Linked DNA regions of Homo sapiens: regions 2 and 3 are each linked to region 1. The links are contacts of gene promoters, found by promoter capture Hi-C in blood cells and fetal thymus (Javierre and others, 2016). All regions are on one chromosome and are shown on one strand. The core of a region is centred on a gene start or on the middle of the fragment in contact, and the rest is flanking DNA. Distances in the headings are between cores, read along the strand shown. Region 1 holds the start of GAB4 (GRB2 associated binding protein family member 4). Region 2 has its middle 89 kb from the start of XKR3. Region 3 has its middle 73 kb from the start of GAB4.

The links. Contacts are between HindIII fragments. The CHiCAGO score rates a contact against its expected background, and 5 or more counts as called.
Region 2: a contact is called between a fragment that was not itself captured here and the fragment with the promoter of GAB4 in region 1, in 2 of 17 cell types (M2 macrophages and M1 macrophages). The highest score is 6.9, in M2 macrophages.
Region 3: a fragment that was not itself captured here is called in contact with the fragment with the promoter of GAB4 in region 1 in 2 of 17 cell types (M2 macrophages and M0 macrophages); the score reaches 7.0 in M2 macrophages.

What each region holds. Positions count from the first base shown.
Region 1 is chr22:17,006,918-17,009,524 of GRCh38, forward strand. GAB4 (GRB2 associated binding protein family member 4) reads right to left here and starts at 1,305. Exons shown (of 10, transcript NM_001037814.1): 1 at 1,024-1,305. The coding sequence starts at 1,197. The HindIII fragment of the contact is 7,120 bases long and covers 1-2,607 here.
Region 2 is chr22:16,913,001-16,915,607 of GRCh38, forward strand. It overlaps the pseudogene IGKV2OR22-4. Among named protein-coding and RNA genes, the nearest start is that of XKR3, 89 kb to the left of the region's middle. The HindIII fragment of the contact is 4,149 bases long and covers 1-2,607 here.
Region 3 is chr22:16,933,996-16,936,602 of GRCh38, forward strand. It overlaps the pseudogene IGKV1OR22-1. Among named protein-coding and RNA genes, the nearest start is that of GAB4, 73 kb to the right of the region's middle. RefSeq lists an enhancer at 1-156. The HindIII fragment of the contact is 7,898 bases long and covers 1-2,607 here.

The DNA.
Region 1 (2,607 bases), core at 55-2,554:
ATGGGTGCAGCAAACCACCATGACACGTGTATATGTATGTAACAAACCTCCACGTTCTGCACATGTATCCCAGAACTTAAAGTATAATAAAAAATTGAAAAAAGAAATGGAGAAAGACAAGAACGCAGAATTGATCATACCCCATACCTCAGGGAAGCAGAGGAAAGGGAAGATGACTATAGGATCAGCTTATTCTGGAATAGATTCTTGAAGGGCTGGACCTGGGGCTAAGGAACAGGAGAGAAAAGCCTCTTCTATGTACCTTGGTATAATCATAGTGACTCCTAACAATTACCGCTTCCTCAGTAAAATTGTTGAAATTTAGAACAACACTCTTCAAATTAGCCACTAGGGGAAAGGGCAACCAATCTTCTTTTTTTCTAAATCGTTTAACCACATGAATTAATATATAGAAAACTACACTGCAGTGCACACTGTCCCTCAGCAGGCGTGGTGGCATGGAAGGACGCGAACGACCCCGGGAGTGGCGGGTGAGGAGGGAAGGGGAGCGAGCGGGTGCGAGGTGCCCGCGTTTTCCTGGGGCCCGGGAGGGAAAGGGAGAGGGTGTGAGGTGCCTGCCTTCTCGGGGCTTGGGAGGGAAGGTGAGCAGGTTTAAGGCGCCTGCCTTCCTTGGGGCCTGGGAGGGAAGGAGAGAGGGTGCGAGGTGCCCGCCATTCTCAGGGCCTGGGAGGGAAGGGGAGCGGGTGCGAGGTTCCTGCCGTTTTGCGAGGCTGCGGAGCCTGCTGTGTCCCCTTTCCCGCCCACTCTCCGACCTGCAGGCCCACGGCGCTCAAGGTAATAGGGTCCCCAGCCCTGGAATCAACTCCCTGGGTCTCGGAACGCAACCCACACAAACCTGGACCCTGTCTCTCACTGGCGGGGAGTCGCCTTCGCATGCAGACGTGGAGAAGTCGCCTCCACCCGCAGCTCCTCCCGTGGACCCAGGCCGCCTCCCCCACGCCCCTCCCGGAGTCCCCAGACCCTCCGTGGCGCTCCTGGTACCGCCCCCACTGCCCCACTCACAAAGAGCCTCAGCTTCTTCTCGGGGGGCGACTTCCTCAGCCAGCCGCTGTACAGCACGTGGCCACTTCTCGTGCTTCCGCCGGCGGGGCCACTTCCGGGCCACGAAGACAAAGGCGCAAATGCCGGGTCAGGTGGGCACAGCTCCCGGGAGGGTGAGGGGGACGGCAGGGACATGGGGGCTGCAGCTCACAGTGAAGGTGGGGGAGACAGGGCGAGAGGGCGTTGCTGGAGGTGGGGTGTGAGGGACGGCTTGCGATACCCTGGGACTGCGGGGTAGAAAGCGCAGTTCTAGGGGAGGTCGGGGTCAGAGGTGAAGCTCGTGGGGAGGGCGAGACCCGGGCGCAGGTGCTCACAGGCGAGGGCGGGGTTCAGGTTCCAGCTGGGCTTTGAGTTCCGGTTCAGGCTTCCATCTGTGGTTCCGGTTCCAATTTGAGGTGGAGTTTGGGATTAAAGTTTAGACGAGGCCTCTCGTTCAGGGTTTGCGTTGGGGATTGGGGTGGGGATTTGCACCCTGGGTCAGCCTGGGTGCATCTCATCGGGACCACCGGGGCGGGGGACATGGGCCGGGTGGCTCCTTGGGAGAAGAGGGACAGGGAGCGCAGCTGGTGGAGAGGACAAGAACGAGGGGCGCAGCTCATTCAGAGGGCCACAACAGAGTCTCAGGTGCTGAGTCCCATGCGCCAGATGAGGAAAGACAATGGAAGAGTTCAGGTTCCTGCTGGGGTTTGAGTTCCAGTTCGGGATTCGGCCCATGGTTTACCTTCTGACTTGAGTTGGGGTTTGGGGTCAAGGTTCAGGCTAGGACTTGAGTTCCGGGTTGCAGTTTGGGGGTGGGGTTAGGTTTCAGAGTGAGGGTTTGGGCCTGTTTGTGTTGTGTATGTTTGTGAATGTATTGGGATGTCACCGTGTGTACTTATGTCACGTGTGTGCACGCATCAGTGTGTGCATGTGTGAGTGTTCATTGAGTGTGGCACTGACAGCCAACCCCTCTCCTCCCATTTATGCCCCACTGTCTTATCCTGGTTGGGGTGGGCTTTACAAGTTCCTTCCCTGGGCCAGTTGGAGGTTCTCATGTTGCCTGGGGAGAGAAGGGAAGGAGAGAACAGGTCAAAGATGAGGGCAGCTTGGCCTCAACCAGACCCGGTGTCACGGGGACCAAGAAGCCGGAGGTCCTTGTCTCCTGCCTCTGGAGGAGCTTGGTTTGCTTCTTTGTTCACACATTGTGTGAAAGCACAGTTGGGGGCATCTGATATGCACAGGATCTGTTCTTGCCTCTGCAGATGTCTTAGAGAACAGGACAGACAAGGGGCCTCTTCAGTAAGCCATCCCCAATGTGCACTGCATGTCAGCTTACAAGAGGGGCACAGGGGCCCCATCAGGTAGCAGGGAGGATGCAAGGAAGAGTGTGTGGGGATGGGGGTGCTGGGTGGGGCCAGGTGAGTGGGTGCCTGGCTTCTCCTCAGAGCAAAGGAAAGTGCTGAAGAGTGTGAAACTGTGTGACATGTTATGCTTTATGTTTTGAGAATGGATTGCAGGAACAAGCAGACATGGGGGACCTGATGAGGGCCAATGGGATGTCCATAG
Region 2 (2,607 bases), core at 61-2,560, 94 kb before region 1:
ACTTTGGAATTTTAATTGCACTTACCATGAAATTTGTTATATTGGAATAAACAATCATCCTAGTGTACTTTCTACCCTTAGCCTGAAGCAGAACTTCTTCTGTTGATTCTGTCATTATTTTGTGTCTATCACACAGTGTAATTATATGTACCTCATGTGACTCATTATTGGGTTCAATATCATTTAGAACACTATATTTAATAAAATCTATGAAAAGCATAGATGCTCCAGGCATTTACAACTAAAACATTGAATTCAGATTCATTTTCAGGTAATGATATAATCATGTGAAAAGAATGCATTTCTGTATTTTTTGAAACCTTTTCTTTTGAAAACATAGTAATACATTTCTACTCTAAAATAGAACTTAGCCTAAATACTTTCAAAACCTTTAGAATTTGGAAAAGAAATAAAAATCTCACATAATTCTGAATGTTCCCTTTTTTACTTGAAATAAACTTTATATTTTCCATCTTTGAGTTCCTGCAGTTTATTTTCAAAGGCCACTTTTGGAATTGTGAAAACTCTGCTTTCACTTGGCAAATAATAATTAAGAGTAATCAATCTTTTAACATTAAGATCTCATACCTGCCATGAGTTTACAAAGTCTATTTGAATAATCCAACATCAAACATTTTTTCTAAGTGTTAGCTGTACTCCCCTGCACACAGCTTGTGTAGAATGCTTCTACCTGTAAGACACTGGAGAGACGGTTTGGTGGGAGTCAGAGAGCAGAATTAGGAAGATGGGAGAGTATGAATTTCCCAATATGACTAAGTGTCATCGCGTGTGAAATAAACCCCAAGATGGTCATTTCCCATATGTGTTCTACTTGTGTTGTCACTAAACTGCATCCATGGTCTGGTTATTCTGACAGTTACATGAACTTGACAAATGTGGGCAAGACAGGGAGGGTGAGGATGTGAGCTTTCATTCACTCTCCCTTCATCATAGCTGGTTGCTCCCAGGGCACGTAGCCCCCATGAATTCTCCTCCTCCTGATGCCTTCCCCAGGCTGTGACTGCTGGTGGGGCCTTAACATATGAAATCTGAGGTGCTACTGAGGCTGTCATGGACCAGCGTCCTCAGCAGCAAACCTTGCCCTGACATCCCCAACAGCCTTCTCCTCTGCAGACTCAAAGACTCTGCTCAGCTGTTCCCTCAGACAAGCAGCCCATGCGGGCAGCTGGGTCAACCCAGCAGGGAGGTTTCTGTTCGAGGATGTAGCACTGTGGGCGGAGTTTGTAGAGCTTGCATGCAGTAATAAACCCCAACATCCTAAGCCTCCACCCTACTGATTTTCAGAGTGAAATCAGTGCCTGACCCACTGCCACTGAACCTGTCTGGAACTCCAGAGGCCCGGTTGGAAACCTCATAGATCAGGAGCTGTGGAGACTGGCCTGGCTTCTGCAGGTACCAATTCAAATAGGTGTATTCATCATCAGTATCCAAGAGGCTCTCACTAGATCTGCAGGAGATGGAGGCTGGCTCTCCAGGAGTGACAGGCAGGGAGAGTGGAGTCTGGGTCATCACAATGTCCCCACTGGATCCTGAAATAATAACAGAGAAGTGCAAGGTTATATAAACACATTTTGAGCAACTTTCATGATTTTCCTTAAGATTTTGATTTAGAGTTACATATTTTTTCAAGTTTTGATTTTTATCATGAAAAGTAGACTTTCTAAAATGAACCAATTTGTTACTAGCCAGCAGGGAGCAGTTTATTTTCAAGAGCTTAATCAGAGCACTGGTCATTTTTCCTGGGAGATGATTCCTGACTATTCCTGAGACAAAAAATACGAGTAATCTTTCCCGGAGCACAGACCATGTGCCCGTAACACATGGTTGAAATAAAAATAGGAAGCTGTGGAGACCCCAGATCTCACCCTCCCACCCCATTTTCTCACCTCACTTTTGATCCTATCCTTACCAGAGACCCAGAGCATTAGCAGCCCCAGGAGCTGAGCAGGGAGCCTCATTGTGAGAAGGTGAACTGAGGAGTCCTGATCAGTCAAGGCAAGGTTAGAGCTGAGCTTTTATCTCAGACTCACAAGGGAAGGTCCTCCCTAAGGGACAACATGCAAATCACCTGGTGGGTGCAGTGGTGTGGAAAAGGTTGATGGGGCAGGGGGAATGTCTCTTCTGTGAACAATGTGACATAAAATGTTTGCTGGAGCCAAACAAATGTAGTTCAAGTCAAGTTTGCCTGTGGTCAAGGGAAGAAGGCTCTGACTGTGGAAGTTGGGACCTTGGGCAGGGACACATTGTGCAGTGCATGCCACACTGAGAACGCACAAGGACCCTGACAACGTGGAAATGTGTTTCTAGGATGCATCTTTGGGAGGTGAATGCCATCCTGCAGGCCTCCCTCCCAATCAATCTAGAGAAAGAAAACAGCCCCATTCCCACAAGCACAGACGGGCAGAGGGCCTGCAAATGAAAAGTGCTCCTGAGCCAGTTCAAGTGTTGCCTCGTATGTGCTGTTTCCAGGATAACTGTTCAATATTATTCAGTGCAAGTGTTAGAATCTCCCCGTCCCTGGCACCTGATGAGTGAGCCCCAAAAAAGCGCTCCGTCCAAGGGCCTCACAGGGAGAATGATGTGGGT
Region 3 (2,607 bases), core at 51-2,550, 73 kb before region 1:
GCGTCCGTGCTGTGTCCTGACTGGGGCTGACTCCTGCACAGGGTGTGACCAGCCTATTAAGAAGTCTTCAGGGCAGGGGGCTGTGCTCTGGGAACATGCTAATCAGCAGGGAGTGGAGCAGGCTGGGCATAGCTGCAGGGCTGGCTCATCTCAGTAACTCAGCATAGGAACAATGTCCCTAGGGTCCCAGGTCAAACCAGGGCAGTACAGATATGTCTGTAAATAACGTGTTTCTTCCTGGGGACCACTTTGTCACAGAGCACATTTTTTGATACTTCTCAAAATTTGAAATACTGCTGAGTACCTGATGAAATAATATATTCCATTGGTGTATTGGGATTATTTAGGAGAATATTCTTCTCTGTAGGAAAATGATAGTAAAGTTTTAGAGGGTGTGATCATCGGGTATTTGATATACTCTGAAAGGGAAGGGGATACATTGTGGTATACTTACAACATTTCTGTGAGTGTGAAATTGTTTCTTCCCTTTAAAAAAATTTATCAAGATAATGCTAAATATATTTCAGTATTTAAATACTTTCAGTATTTTGGAATGACTTTAATTCATTATTATGATTATCACTATCTGTTCAAGCAATTCCCTGCAGATGCACAAAGATGATACCCTCAACCTCAAAGCATGTATTGCTCACAGATCTACCATTATCCAAACCTATGGACCTCTTTAACGCCAGGGATTTTATGGAATGCATCTTATTTTTGGTTTCAGGGCCTCCATATTCTATTCCTGTTTCTGTCATTGGTTATTTCTTCCCAGGATTCATCAGCATGAAGGGCTGAGTAGTGATGCTAGACCTGACTACTTAAAAAATAAAAAAAAAGTCACTTGTTTCTTCCTCCAATTATAGAAGCATGGATTAGGATAAACTTGAAATTATTCAGGGATCAATTGTCTCCAAAAAAAGACTAATGCCATATTCCCTGAGTAATGGTCTGGGCTGCACTGCCCACTAGCATGTTCCTGGGGACTCAGGAGGAGCTCCTCTGGAGCCTGGATTCCTGGAGATCAGGTGACGGGGAGAGCTTGGGAAAGACCAGGACAGTGAGTCTTCCCTCCTAGTGAGGGCAGCTGCTGCTCAGGGCATATCCCTGCCTTGCACTATCAATGCCACTTTCTTTCCTCTTTTACTCTTTAGCAGTGAGGGAAGGTCATCCTAACCCAGGTGCCAGCCTCCTGTCTCACATCTAGGACAGAGAGTCTCCATCTCCTTTCCAGTAAGTACCCATGTATATGGAGAAATCACTTGGATTTGGACAAAACTGAACACAGATTCGCATCCATTATATGTCACATCTTTAACAGGGGCCAAGGCATCTCAGCCTGGTGCAGTCGTAGAGGAAGTGGATTGAACTACATCAGCATCAGTGGGCTTCAGCCTGGGGTTCTGGGGAGTATTACTGATGCCTGACTAGGAGTGGTCAAATCACTTTAGTGGAGACTCTGCATACACCCTCCTGCTGCCTATTCAGGGGCCTGAACTTGGGGGAACGTACTTGTTTTGAGGGAAAAACGGAAACTTCCTACATTTATATATATATATGTATATATGTGTGTGTGTGTGTATATATATATGTGTGTCTGTGTATATATGTGTGTGTGTATGTATGTGTGTATATGTATAAATCTCCTGTTAGTTCTGTCCCTCTAGATGTCACTGGCTAATACAGGAAGTTTATTAAGTATTAACTCACACAATCACAAGGTCTCCCAATAGGATGTCTGCAGGCTGTGGAGCAAGGAGAGCCAGCCAGAGTTCCAAAACTGAAGAACTAGGAGTCCATGTTCGAGGGCAGGAAGCATCCAGCACGGGAGAAAGATGTAGGCTGGGAGGTGAGGCCCATCTCTTTTCACATTTTTCTGCCTGCTTATAGTCTAGCTGTGTTGGCAGCTGACTGGATTGTGCCCACACAGATTAAGGGCGGGTCTGCCTTTCCCAGCCCACTGACTCACATATTAATCTCCTTTGGCAACACCCTCACAAACACACCCAGGACCAATACTTTACCTCCTCAATCCAATCAAGTTGACACTCAGTATTAACCATCACAAGCCCACCCCTTGTCACCTTGAACACATACACATCTCCTGAGATCATACCTAATCTTAAAATAAAGACAATAATGTGGTCGTAATTACACCTAACATAACTATCCTTCCTACAACCGGAAACGCACCAATCGCCAACCCAAATACTATTACATAAAGTGAACAATGCTTAAATGCTGATATGAAGTCAATAACTCTTATGTCACCTGATAAAGAAAAAGGAAATGAAATCAAGATATTTTCTTAGTACAAGTGTATACATGCACAAAGATGTTTTTTAAGAAAAGAAGAAAGAAATACTCATGACAGTTCCAGTCCTCATTTCTGCAGCTGGTCACATGGTCACAGCTGGTATTGATTACTACCTTCTTCCATTATTCATTCTGTATTTCCTTTGCCTTTAGCAAGCACCTCAGCAGGTTGTGACCCCGGAGGGATCTGGACCATTTAGGTCTTACCTGGGTTGGGCTGTTGTAGTTTCCCATTGACCTTAATCAGAGTGCATGATAATCCCAAGAGACGCCCTAATGGATCTCCTG